Linked DNA regions of Homo sapiens: regions 1 and 2 are each linked to region 3. Evidence: promoter capture Hi-C in 16 types of primary human blood cells and fetal thymus (Javierre and others, 2016). All regions are on one chromosome and are shown on one strand. Each heading gives the region's core, a stretch centred on a gene start or on the middle of the fragment in contact. The rest is flanking DNA. Distances are from core to core; before and after follow the strand shown. Region 1 overlaps SEC11A (SEC11 homolog A, signal peptidase complex subunit). Region 2 overlaps SEC11A (SEC11 homolog A, signal peptidase complex subunit). Region 3 holds the start of SLC28A1 (solute carrier family 28 member 1).

Region 1 (4,715 bases), core at 450-2,949, 190 kb before region 3:
ACATCAACCATTTTCATCTCTTCTAGCTATTCATTCTGGTGTTTACCCCAACCACTCTAAAAACTGTTTGTTTACTTTCATACTAGGGTGTTAATGCATGATGTTCAAAATGTACAATGAGGGGCTAGGCACAGAGACTCATGCCTGTAATCCCAACACTTTGGGAGGCTGAGGTGGGAGGATCACTTGAGCCTAGGAGTTCGAGACCAGAAAGCAAGACCTTTATCTCTACAAAAAAAAATACAAAAAAAGGCCGAGTGCAGTGGCTCACGCCTGTAATCCCAGCACTTTGAGAGGCCGAGGCAGGCGGATCACGAGGTCAGGAGTTTAAGACCAGCCTGGCCAACATGGTGAAACCCCATCTCTACTAAAAATACAAAAATTAGCCAGGCGCAGTGGCGTGTGCCTGTAATTCCAGCTACTCGGGAGGCTGAGGCAGGAGAATTGCTTGAACCCGGGAGGTAGAGGTTGCAGTGAGCTGAGATCGCACCATTGCATTCCAGCCTGGGCGACACAGCAAGACTCCATCTAAAAAAAAAAAAAAAAAAAAAAAAAAAAAGAAGGTAGAGGAAAATTTAGCACACTAAATAGAGATGCGGATGATTAAAAAAAAATATCCAGAGGCTGGGCTCGGTGGCTCACGCATGTAATCCCAGCACTTTGGGAGGCCAAGGCGAGCAGATCACCTGAGGTTGGGAGTTCGAGACTAGCCTGCCCAACATGGAGAAACCCCCATGTCTACTAAAAATACAAAATTAGCTGGGCTTGGTGGCACATGCCTGTAATCTCAGATACTCGGGAGGCTGAGGTGGGAGAATCGCTTGAACCTGGGAGGCGGAGGTTGCAGTGGGCCGAGATCGCACCATTGCACTCCAGCCTGGGCAACAAGGGCGAAACTCCGTCTCAAAAAAAAAAAAAGAAAAATTAGCTGGGTGTGGTGGTGCATGCCTGTAGTCCCAGCTCCTTGGAGGCTGAGGCAGGAGAATCACTTGAACCCAGGACGTAAAGGCTGCAGTGAGCTATGATTGCCCCACTGCATTCTAGCCCAGGTGCCAGAGCAAGACTGTGTCTCAAAAAATAAATACAATTGTGATGAGGAATCCAGCTCTCTTGTACCATTTTCTATTTTCTCCCTACAATTAACCTGTTTTTCCTGCATACTTTTTAAAAACATTTCAAGTTTCATATTCTTCACACTTGATCTTAGCCAAAAGGCCGAGAAGCGATCAAGTTTCATATTCTTATAAATGCACAGTTAATCTCTGAAAAGACAGACAAGAAACTGGAGAAAAGGAACCAGGAGTCAAGGTGGAAGAAAAATATTTTCTGATATACATACTTCATGTTTTTACAGTTTTTACTATATGCAAGTATCACCTGTTCAAAACTAAACTGTTTTGGTTTATTTTTTTAAGTCCACGCTAATGGCCAGAACACTATTCTTCTAGCATTCCAATGAAGCACGGTGTACTCAATCAATGTAATTAATCAATTTCCACAAAAGGAAATATGAACATTTTCGCCGAGACAATTAGAAATATTTGCTGTTCTTTCAGTAATAGAGTGATGTGAGCACATGGATAATCTGAAACCTACTTTGACACTCACATTTACAGGTAAGGAAACTGAGGCACAGAGAAGCTAAGCGACATGCTCATGGCTGCTTGTCTACTGGCTGGCAGAGTAGCACTATTAGAACTCTGGCCTCCTAAATTCTATGTTTTCAAGATGGTGGCTTTTTAAAAGACAAAATGGGTCTTCTTATTCTGAAGGCTGAATTGAAGACGTGGAGTGGGACATGATAGAAGTAGGAAAACTAGCTTCTAAGACACAATTATGTCAACCAGAAGATAAACAGTGAGGAATTCAGTTAAGACTCAAATTTCCAACTTTCTGCACTAAAAATATCACCTACAGTACTGGTTAGGACAATAGATTCTGGGCCCTAATTCAGAACCTCTGAGGAAGGGGTTGTAGGATTCTACAATGTATATAGCTCCATAATCCCTTACTCAAAACCCTTGGGGGTCAGATGTGTTCCAGGATTCAGAATGGGTGTGATTTTGAAAAGGTAATACTTGCATGTACCCTATGTTACATATACTCTTAGCAGGGTTTATGGCAATATCCCAATATCAAACACATTAAGATTTTGGCAGCAAAACAAAAATTCACACTGAAGTAAATAAAAACTAAAAACAAAACAAAACAAAAACCCACAGTTCACGTCTATTTTGTTGGGGAAAAAAAATTTCCATTTTCAAAAGGGCTCGGTTATAGAGTTGCAGAAGTTACCTAATTAGACATTTAATAAGATAACTGCTATTTAAAAGAAAAATGCCCACCGGGTGCAATGGCTTATGCCTATAATCCCAGCACTTTGGGAGGTCAAGGTGGGAGGACTGCTTGAGCCCAGGAGTTCGAGTTCAGCCTGGGCAACATAGTGAGATCCCTATCTCTAAAAAAAAAATAACAAAATTTAAAAATTAAGAAAAAAAAAAGTGCCAGCCAAGGCAACATAGCAAGACCCTGTCTCTTAAAAAAAAAAAATTAATTAGCTGAGTGTGGTGGCACACACCTGTAGTCCCAACTACTTAAGAAGCTGAGGTAGGAGGATTGCTTGAGCCCAGGAGGTTGAGGCTGTAGTGAGCTGTGACAGCACCACTGCATTCTAGCATGGGTAACAGTGTGAGATCTTGTCTCAAAAAATAATAATACAATAAAAATGAACAAGTTAAAATATATAATTTCCTATGTTCTTGCAAGAAAGGTCACTATCCCAGCCATAATTATCCTTCTCCTTTTTCTCAGACATATAATACTTTTATTATGGAATTATTATTGTGAAATGTAGCTAATCATCAAGATCATCTTCCTCATTTTTATTAGAGAAAGAGGTTAAAGTTCCTGATTATGTATAACTGGTATGTTCCTTAAAAGGTACCTATTTGTATACTGCTAAGTCAATCTGCAAGCCAAAACCTAGACAGAAGCACACTATTTGCTAAAACAAACATTGTATCTGAGCAAAAGATTGAAAAGTGTCATACTCTTCTCCCTTTCTTTTTACCCTCTCTTTTCCTGCCAACAGTCTTTACTCAAACGTCAAACATATTGCCTCCCTAGCCCCTACTTTCTTTATCACTATGTCTGAATGCTTAGGAATGTATATAATTGGAAAAAAAGTGTTGCCTCTTTCTGTATTGGCAGAAATAAGGTGGCAGCTACCTAACCTCATATCTGACCACATCAAGCTAACTATTAATAAAGACATTGCAACATATGTAGAATAATAACCACAGAATTGAATAGCCTTATTATTTTTTCTAAGAAATGACCAGAACAATATTTCTTCAATGCTCAAGGTGAAACTAGAAAAGAATGATATCAAAGTTCTATATAATATCTCTCAGCAGCTGTGATATAGGGATTTGTGTTTACTATTCTTTTTTTTCTTTTTAGGAAGTATTGTGTAGAGCCTTCCCCCAAACTCCTGTGACTAGAATAAGCCACAAGACAATTTATAATCCACTCTAAGTAATATATAATAAGAAATTAAGAAAAACCTAACACAGAAAATTCAGCAAGATAAAAGTTGATAATAATTTTAAATACTATAATTTAATGGGCTACCATCTAGAAGCTACATCCTGTGTATTTACTGATCACAATGATCAAATACACCATTGTGCTTCCTATTCTTGTAAGAGATATTTGAAGTTCAACATATAAGATATGTTCATAGAAATCAGAAGCAAAAATGTGTCTTAGAGCTACAAAATAGCAGTTGGCCTAAGTCTTAAATTCCATTTATCTTAAGACCTCAAATTAAGGGACTCATTAATCCATAATCACAATTCTCCTGCTTTCTAACTCATGAAAGGAGAAATCAGAAGCTAGATATTACAGAAGGTATACTGATAGCAGCTAGAAGTGAAATTGACGGTGCTGAAAAAATTGAAATATCTTCAAATGGACACTATTATTGTGACCCAATAAAATCAATGCAGGACCTGGAATGAATCTTAAATGATAATTTTTTAAATTCCTAATAGTCTAAATAAGCATACCATCATTAAAACAATTTTCACTTTAAAAATCTGTTAAATCTTTTAAAATCTGACAAGTGAAAACACATTTAACATATACAAACACATGTACAGCAGCTTCCCTCATAATAGCCTCAAACCGGAAATAACTCAAATGCCCATCAACAGATGAATTCAGGCTCACTGGAACATTTTGGATTTTGGATATTTCAGATTTGGGATGTTCAACCGGTAAAATGCAAATAGAAGTATTCCAAAATAAAAAAAAAGTCCAAAATACTTCTGGCCCCAAGCATTTCAGATAACAGATACTCAACCCGTACATAAATCGTAGTATTTCCACAAAATGGAATACTACTCAGGAATACAAAGGAATTAACTATTGACACATGCAACATAGGTGAATTTCCAAAATATGCTGTCCTGGCCAGGAGTGGTGGCTCATGCCTATACTCCCAGCACTTTGCGAGGCCAAGGAGGGCAGATCACTTGAGGCCAGGAGTTTGAGACCAGCCTGGCCAACATGGCGAAACCCCATCTCTACCAAAAATACAAAATTTAGCCAGGCGTGGTGGCACGTGCCTGTGGTCCCAGCTGCTCGGGAGGTTGAGGTGGGAGGATGACTTGAACCTGGGAGGCAGAGGTTGCAGTGAGCTGAGATCACAC
Region 2 (4,882 bases), core at 2,356-4,855, 210 kb before region 3:
GAGGAAACAGATGATCATGCCCAAGGTACATGGTTTCTGTGTGGCAGAACCAGCACCAGATAGAGCCAAGGTCTTAGATCTCCAGGTGGTGACTCTAATGCTACATGTTGATACAGTGCTAGGGGCTAGGTTTATCATCATAACCTTCAGGAAGCTGTCAATCTAGCTGGGGAGACAAAGCAAGCACAGCCAGAATATTACAAAGTACTTCATGTTAAGTGGCCAAAAAGTGAGTGTAAGAGCTCATTATAGTACTTAGGATTTCACCACCTTCTCATTTTTTAATCACCTGTAAGCTGTGTTTGGTCCTATTAACTTGAAACTTTTCTAGAACAGTTTTCATCACCATATGTAGCAAACCAGTCTCAACTCCCATCTTCCTTTCCATCTTGGCAGCATTTGACTTTCATGACCACAAATATGCTCTGGAAATTCCTCCTTCTTGGTTTCTTAATGTACCACAGATTTGTTTCTTCACCTAACTCTTTGGCTGCTACACTTTCTTTTCACTAGCTCTTTCTAATTCCTCATGCCCCTAAAGTTTTTCCCCTCAAACTAAGCAAAACCACCTGTTAAATTATCTTACAGCACCTGATACATTTCCTTTGAGGTCTTTATAATAATTATCATACTTTTACTTAAATAATTAGTTGTACAACAGATTCGATACATGTGTGTCTCCCCTACCAAACTAGAAGCTCTATAAAGGCAACAATGATGCCTATCTTGTTCCCCCTGTATCCTCAAGGTCAACATAGTGCCTTACACATAGGAGATATCCAGTACATCCTGCCTGATTGAATGTCTGAATGTCCGGGCCTTTTCTTTTTGCTTTCTCTTGGGGAAATCCTATTTTCTCCCAGGGCTTAAATTCCTCTCCATGCAAAAGACTACTTTGACATCATAAGCATTCACGGCAGAAAGAGAAAATTAGCAGGGTACCATCGATGTGGGCGGAATAGGTGGTTAGCAAATGTAAAACTTTCTTCTTTATCCTCCTCTTCTATCGCTGGACTCCAGAGCGGACTGGCAATATTGTACTAAGCTAGAGCCTGTCATAGGGACGCTGAGCTGAAGTGGAGGCTGACCTTTGCACACTTTAAAACAGCCCAGACCATGCCAAAGACAGCACAAACAGAAATTACCTCCCACATAATATCTACACCATCAAAGCCTCAGGCAAACTTGAAGAACACACATTTTGTTTTTGACACATTTCACTTCCCTTTAAGAACTCGCCTCTGCCTCTGCCTCTGCCCCTGACCATGCCCCTGCCCCTGCCTCTGCCTCTCCCCACGGTCTCCCTCTCCCTCTCTTTCCACGGTCTCCCTCTGATGCCGAGTCGAAGCTGGACTGTGCTGCTGCCATCTCGGCTCACTGCAACCTCCCTGCCTGATTCTCCTGCCTCAGCCTGCCCGGTGCCTGCGATTGCAGGCGCGCGCCGCCACGCCTGACTGGTTTTCGTATTTTTTTGGTGGAGACGGGGTTTCGCTGTGTTGGCCGGGCTGGTCTCCAGCTCCTAACCGCGAGTGGTCCGCCAGCCTCGGCCTCCCGAGGTGCCGGGATTGCAGACGGAGTCTCGTTCACTCAGTGCTCAATGGTGCCCAGGCTGGAATGCAGTGGCATGATCTCGGCTCGCTACAACCACCTCCCAGCCGCCTGCCTTGGCCTCCCAAAGAGCCGAGATTGCAGCCTCTGCCCGGCCGCCACCCCGTCTGGGAAGTGAGGAGCGTCTCTGCCTGGCTGCCCATCGTCTGGGATGTGAGGAGCCCCTCTGCCTGGCTGCCCAGTCTGGAAAGTGAGGACCGTCTCTGCCCGGCCGCCATCCCATCTAGGAAATGAGGAGCGTCTCTGCCTGGCCGCCCATCGTCTGAGATGTGGGAAGCGCCTCTGCCCCGCCGCCCCGTCTGGGATGTGAGGAGCGCCTCTGCCCGGCCGCGACCCTGTCTGGGAGGTGAGGAGCGTCTCTGCCCGGCCGCCCCGTCTGAGAAGTGAGGAGACCCTCTGCCTGGCAACCGCCCCCTCTGAGAAGTGAGGAGTCCCTCCGCCCGGCAGCCACCCCATCTGAGAAGTGAGGAGCCCCTCCGTCCGGCAGCCACCCCGTCTGGGAAGTGAGGAGCGTCTCCGCCCAGCAGCCACCCCGTCCGGGAGGGAGGTGGGGGTCAGCCCCCGCCAGGCCAGCCGCCCCGTCCGGGAGGTGAGGGGCGCCTCTGCCCGGCCGCCCCTACTGGGAAGTGAGGAGCCCCTCTGCCCGGCCACCACCCGGTCTGGGAGGAGTACCCAACAGCTCATTGAGAACGGGCCATGATGACAATGGCGGTTTTGTGGAATAGAAAGGGCGGAAAGGTGGGGAAAAGATTGAGAAATCGGATGGTTGCCGTGTCTGTGTAGAAAGAAGTAGACATGGGAGACTTTTCATTTTGTTCTGTACTAAGAAAAATTCTTCTGCCTTGGGAAAAAAAAAAAAAAAAGAACTCCCCTCACTTCCTGTCTCTTGTCTTCACCCCTCTCTGTCCTCTCCCTTCTAGCAGGATCACTGAGACCTGTCTCTCTTGCCCCATCCCCAAACTCCCATTCCATACACTGGTGTTTCTTAAAGCCTAGACCTCCTCTGTCACAACCGCTTGATGGCTTGTTAAAAATGCAGATTCTTGGCTGGGCACGGTGGCTCACGCCTGTAATCCCAGCACTTTGGGAGGCTGAGGCGGGTGGATCATGAGGTCAGGAGATCGAGACCATCCTGACCAACATGGTGAAACCCTGTCACTACTAAAAATATAAAAATTAGCTGGGCATGGTGGTGCACGCCTGTAATCCCAGCTACTCAGGAGGTTGTGGCAGCAGAATCGCTTGAACCCGGGAGGTGGAGGTTGCACTGAGCCGAGATTGTGCCACTACATGCCAGCCTGGCGACAGGGTGAGACTCTGTCTCAAAAAATAAAAATAAAAAATAAAAAAAATAAATAAAAATGCAGATTCTTGTATCTTTCCCAGACCAACTAAGCCAGGGAATTTCTGAAAGGTGGGGCCCAAATAACGCTCCTGTACATCAAAATTCAAGAAGTACAATTTTAGTGTGAGATGCACATATAGGTGTGTGATGGCAAATAATATCCCTTCTTAGGGTTCATGCTTTCATCTCAACCCCTGGGATCTCCAAGAGCTGAAAAGTAACAGTCGTTAAAGAATGGCACGGCTAAGCTCTAAGAGGATGGATAGAGGTTTTCTACATTTTATATATATTTATATATATATATTATTTTTCCTTTTTAATGCAGTAACTGTTATTTCTTTTGTCTCATTTTTAACACTTCCATAAAAGCAATAGCTTTCAGTAAATCACCTAATTTAAGAACATAAAGGCAAATGCCTCACAGTAAAGTACAGATTAAGAGCTATAAAAGCATCTGTGATTTCTACTAAAACATTAAGCTGCTAATTCTGATCTGATGATCAATAAGCAGCCATTCTAATACACAGAGACTCTGTTACCTCCATGCAATGATATCTATGCCCAAAGAACCACAATCCTCAGCTCCCAGCAATCACATAGCCTGCTTGTGAATAATCCATGGAATTTAAAAAAAAAAATTTTTTTTTTGATACATGATCTTACTCTGGCACCCAGGCTAGAATGCAGTGGTGTGATCATAGCTCACTACAGCCTTGAACTCCTGGGCTCAAGCAATCCTCCCACCTCAGCCTCCCAAGGAGCTGGGACTACAAGTGCACGCCACCATGCCTGGCTAATTTTTAAATTTTTTTGTAGAGACAGCATCTCACTACCTTGCTCAGGCTGGTCTCAAACTCCTGGGCTCCAGCGGTTCTCCCATCTTGGCCTCTTAAAGTGCTGAGATTACAAGCGTGAGCCACCACACACAACCTGAAACTTTTTTTTAAAGGTTGGCTTTTCTTTGCCCACTGTAAGTGAAATGAAAGCAACTTGGTCTTTAGGAGTAATATAAGCAAGATCTAAGGATCCCAGAATATGACGAGGCAGTTCAAAGTCAAACAAAAGATTTAATTGTCTGTACCACTGTTACCCTCCATGGACAGAGATAAGCAAAGAGCTGATAATCAAGTGTATAATGCTGCTATCATCAGTCATCTTAAATTCAAACCATTTGCACTTTTTGCCTATTTTGCTCAGATAAACTCATGTGCTAAAGCAGAGTTGCTAATAAGCAGGAGGTTTAAAGTAAGTAAAATGAATGCCATCCACAAAGCCAACTCCAACACTAGCCTGTGCCAAGTTAATATCTAGAAGGTAAAATGCATTTCATATAGTTAAATACATTTCCGTGGGAATTCTTGGGATCAAAGGTACTGCTGAGGAAGTAGCCTCAGAAGAAAGCACTGTCTCCTGATGCTCATAGAGATCATTAGACAAAAGGCCAAACAAACAGTAAAGAAAAGATGCCACAAAAATTAAGAAGAGACCCCAGCACAATTCTGTCAAATATCAAAAGGGGTCTATATCTGGGAAGTCTGAAATCCAGCAGCAACTAAATGAGAGAGTAAGAGAATATGCGATGACCAGAAAAGGATCATCTTGTTTCTAGAATGACTTGTTTCAAGTAAGAAGTACATTCAAAAAGTCTTATCCATAAAACTGATTTCAGTTAACAGAGAGCTCAATTACTCTACTCCTTCCTTATATATTTTTAATTCTTCTTTCCATTTTCAACATTTCTGTTCCCCGATCCTCTGCCAATCTTTCACCCTTTTCACCTGCTGCTTTCTATTCCTTCTTAACTAATGGGTGCTCTTGAATTTTTCAACTTCCTGAGTTTAGAAAGAAATCACCTTTATTAATACTTAATTGGTTCAGTATTAGTTTCATTTTCTAAAATTGTTTTTATTACATGCTACGACATGAATA
Region 3 (4,389 bases), core at 655-3,154:
ATCAATTAAATATTAAATATTTGGGAACAGTGAGCTCTGAACTGCTTGGGTAAAATTCGCCCTGCCTGGTGGCCTTAAGCACTCCTGCAGGTGGGACCCGGCATCCTAATTCTACCAGGCCTCTTGTTGCTGCCGTAGATGAGCCCCAGACTCGGCCTTCCATTTTGTATTGGATGATGACCACATGTGCCCAGATGTTCTCAGTGAGTAGAGTGGGTCAAGGAGTAAACTATATCGGAAACCGTTGGATAATCATGCCAAGCAGGCTGGGGGCTTCCAGCCTTTGGGGTACTGGAATGCTTTCTTCCCCTGGGACCAGCTGAACTAGCTCTGTAGTTGCCGGGAGAGCAGTGTGCTCTAACACTTGGGCTAGTCCGTTCCCACAGGAAAACTAGAAGAGTCACAAGCAAAGAGTATAAAAGCCCAAGATATTTCTTTAGTCTTTGTATTTAGCTCTATGTCATCAATTTTTTTTTTTACAGGGTCTCACTCCTGTCGCCCAGGCTGGAGTGCAGTGGTGTGATTATGGTTCACTGCAGCCTTGACTTCCCAGGCTTAAATGATCCTCCCACCTCAGCCTCCTGAGTAGCTGGGATTACAGGTGCACGCCACCACACCTGTCTAATTTTTTCTATTTTTTGTAGAGACAGGGTCTCCCTGTGTTGCCCAGGCTGGTCTTGAAGTCCTGGGCTCAAGCGATCTACCTGCCTTGGCCTCCCAAAGTGCTAGGATTATTGCTACTTTCCAATATTTCTACTACAGACTACGGGAAGTCCATTTTTCAATGCCAAATGCAGAAGAAAAAGTTGTATGGATGCCCTTTCTGCCAATCATCCCAGGTTTAGGAGAGAAGAATGATGAGGTCATGTTCATGGAACTTGACGAGTGATAAGCCTCTTTATTTGTCCAGTGCTTGGATACACGAATCGATGCAATGAAAGAGACCTCGCCTGTGAAGAGCTAAGAAATGAGTGTGGGCAGAATCATGAGAAGAAAATAAAGAGATTGCTGAGCAACTCTTCTGACAGTTCTTGTGCTTTTTGAATGTTTCACTCACTACTTATAAAATAACCTATTATGTCAGAGCCTGGCGAGAAGGGATCCTCTCCAACTCTTTGACTAATAATTCCCTAAAACAGGAGGTGGCCTGCAGAAGAACTAAAACCAGAAAAGTTAGGTGGTTGCCTCTGAGGAATGGGATAGAGTTGGAGGGGTGGAGCAGCCCCTTTACTGTCAACCCTTCTGAGCTCTGCTGGATGGTGAGGGAAATTATCTATGTATATTTATGTGGTCCTCTCCCCACTCTGCCCTGGCCTGGCTCAGCTCTAGGTCTCACTCAGCGGGCGTCTGCGGGTGTGCCGGGCCTCAGAGGCTGTCTCCTTAGGAAACAGGCCACCAAGAAGCCCAAGGACATGCTGAGGTCCCACAGCTGGAGGGGCACAGCCGGGACACCTGAGGTCCTCCAGCTGTTGGTCTTTCCCTGGGGTCTCCACCCCAATCTATCCAGCCTCCCAACTCCCCAGCCTGTGGCTTTTTGCCACATTCCACCTGAAAAGACCGCTTGGCTTCTGGGGTCTGGGATCCCTGCTGGCCATGCCTCCTTGAGAGGAGGAGCAGGGGAGAAGCCCGGAGTCTCCTGGCCTGGAGGAGGGGAGCAGTGTGTCAGGACACCCCGGATGGGACCTGTGACAGCAATGACACCTGCCAGCCTGATGCCGCTTGACTCCCTGCCAGGTACTTCCTAAGCAGGAGCACGCTGACTCCTCATGTGCTCTATTACCCACCACCAGATGAGGCAGCAAGTTAACTTTGGCAGTCAGGAGTGGAGACCTTTGGGCTCCAAGCTCAAGGTCCACCCCAAGACACACAGCCCATTAAATCCTTGTTGTAGAGATTAGGGCCCACAACGATGTGAAGGTTATAAGCTGCACTGCATGGTTGCTGCTGGATGTGTTGTGTTCCTGGCTTCCCTCTGGATGCTGACAGAAACAAGGGTGAGAGAAAAGGACAGTAGGAGAGGAGGGAAGGCGGGACTGAAGAAAGGAGGGGAAGGGGGTAGCACAGGGCAAAGTGGAAAAGCAGGTAGCGTCCTTTTTTTCTTCACTAGGGCTTGGCGAAGACCCCTTCGAGGACAGCTCCAGGCCCATCCCTGTGGTGGCCACCCATGGAGACAGTAGTGCTGCTCAGAGGCATTTAGTTTTTGTTTCTTTTCTGTTTTTGAGGTAGAGTCTCGCTCTGTTGCCGAGGCTGGAGTGCAGTGGTGTGATCTCTGCTCACTGCAGCCTCCACCTCTCGGGTTCAAGCAATTCTCCTGCCTCAGCCTCCCGAGTAGCTGGGACTACAGGCACCTGCCACCATGCCTGGCTAATTTTTGTATTTTTAGTAGAGACGGGGTTTCACCATGTTGGCCAGGCTGGTCTCGAACTCCTGGCTTCAAGTGATCTGCCCACCTTGGCCTCCCAAAGTGCTGGGAGTGCAGGCATGAGCCACCGTGCCCCCCCTCTTTTTTTTTTTTAAAGGTAGAGTCTTGCTCTGTGGCTAGTTTTCAATCAAGGTAACACATGGGCTCTCAACAGTGTGCGGAACTCTGCTAGAAAAATCAAATTATGAGAACACTGTTACTGTGTGATCCCCTATTGGAAAATGAATAACATAAAATAACATACATTTAGGAAAAAAAAAGTGGAGAAAAGGCCAGGCGCGGTGGCTCATGCCTGTAATCCCAGCACTTTGGGAGGCCAAGGTGGGTGGACCACCTGAGGTTGGAAGTTCGAGACCAGCCTGACCAACATGGAGAAACCCCATCTCTACTAAAAATACAAAATTAGCCAGGTGTGGTGGCGCATGCCTGTAATCACAGCTACTTGGGAGGCTGAGGCAGGAGAATCGCTTGAACTTGGGAGGCGGAGGTTGCAGTGAACCGAGCTCGCACCACTGTACTCCAGCCTGGGCAACAAGAGTGAAACTCCGTCTCAAAAAAAAAAAAAAAAAGGAGGAAAATGCCACACAAACTCAATAGTGGTCATCCCTGAGGGCTCAGATTCCGGGGACTTTAACTTCCCTCATTCTGTATATTTCTCTAATGTTTAAATGTTTAATGATACACTTGTAATGCTTTGGTAATTCAAATGACAGATGAAGAAAAAATGTTTTCAAAAAGAGGGGGTGTCCATCCACCATCCTCTCCAAACTTCCAAAACAACCAGGAGGTGCCGGTACTAGCAAGTATTTATGCATCATAGAGGATTTTGTCCTGAGCGCGTACCATTAATTATTAAAGAGATGTTGTGAATCCCGTCAGATGAGTTTAATGTTTAGTGTGAGGACTGGAAAACTAAAGCATTCAGCCCTTCGCTTTGCACACCGTTGGCTTAGGTATTCATTTAACAAAGATGAAATGAAGGGGAAATGGTGTGATTTGGTTTTGTTTTCTTGACAGACCTGAAACACTTTTACTATTTCTCACAGCTACACTGCTTTCCTCATTTTCCAGCACAGGAAAATTGGTTGCTGTTATAATAAATCCCCATCTAGTGAGAAAGGGAGATAGAGAAAGATGCAAAATGAAAGATAAAATGCAAAAAGCTAACAGCCTGGCTGGGGAAAGGAGGCCATGGGAAGGAAGGAGGGGGAGGGAAATAATCACATAGGTGGCTTCCTGGAAGAAGCGGCCCTAATAGGCCTGGAAGAGGTCAGTTTGGGAACTGGGGAGAGGGCAGAGGAGGGCATCTCTGATGGAGAAGCAGCAGCCAGTGGGCAGGAGCTGCAGGGAGCCAGGTTGCAAGTGGGCCTGCTTCCTGTATCCCTGAGACCGTGTTGGGGTCCCCACCCTGGCTGTGGCCCTGGCCTCTGGGGAGGCGCTGGGCAGAACTGGGTGGCAGGCCCAACCTACTCCGACCCTGGACTCTGCCCAGGAATTTCTGCTGAAGTGACAAGGCAAGCCAGAGCCAAAGCAGGTTGGACCCAGCTTGTCCCCACAGAGACGTGTGCTTCCCTCTCTCTCTGAGAGCGACCTGTTAACCGCAAATACGTGAGTAGAAACAGGGCCCCGCTTCTGTGTGCGCTGCTGTGCGTCTGTGTGTGAGCCAGGGCATTCCCAGGCTCTGCCTGTGTGTGTGCACGCACATGCACGGGTCTCTGAGTATGTCAGCCTAACTGGGCTGGCATTTGGATGGAGTAGGGCACCACCCAAGGGGAGAAAAAGGAGCGGGAACAAGAGAAGGGAGAGAGGAGGTGTTAGTTACCACTCTTATTTACAGATGAGCTTAAGCCTACGAACTGAGCTTCAGCAAAAAATGAACTATATTGATTCTTGCAATGGAAAGTCCAGGAGTAGGATTGGTTTCAGGTATAGTTGGATCCAGGAACTGGAATGATGCCTTTAAGGAT

Evidence for each region. The method cuts DNA at HindIII sites, captures the fragments that hold promoters and counts their contacts. A CHiCAGO score of 5 or more calls a contact.
Region 1: a contact is called between a fragment that was not itself captured here and the fragment with the promoter of SLC28A1 in region 3, in 2 of 17 cell types (M0 macrophages and M2 macrophages). The highest score is 5.5, in M0 macrophages.
Region 2: a contact is called between a fragment that was not itself captured here and the fragment with the promoter of SLC28A1 in region 3, in 2 of 17 cell types (M1 macrophages and M0 macrophages). The highest score is 6.1, in M1 macrophages.

The regions. Positions count from the first base shown.
Region 1 is chr15:84,694,559-84,699,273 of GRCh38, forward strand. The region is part of intron 1 of SEC11A (SEC11 homolog A, signal peptidase complex subunit); the gene reads right to left. Among named protein-coding and RNA genes, the nearest start is that of SEC11A, 19 kb to the right of the region's middle. The HindIII fragment of the contact is 7,601 bases long and covers 1-4,715 here.
Region 2 is chr15:84,670,976-84,675,857 of GRCh38, forward strand. All of the region lies in intron 4 of SEC11A (SEC11 homolog A, signal peptidase complex subunit), which reads right to left. Among named protein-coding and RNA genes, the nearest start is that of NMB, 15 kb to the left of the region's middle. The HindIII fragment of the contact is 9,766 bases long and covers 1-4,882 here.
Region 3 is chr15:84,882,758-84,887,146 of GRCh38, forward strand. It overlaps SLC28A1 (solute carrier family 28 member 1), which reads left to right and starts at 1,905. Exons shown (of 19, transcript NM_004213.5): 1 at 1,905-1,994; 2 at 3,915-4,030. RefSeq lists enhancers at 984-1,484, 1,485-1,985. The HindIII fragment of the contact is 20,311 bases long and covers 1-4,389 here.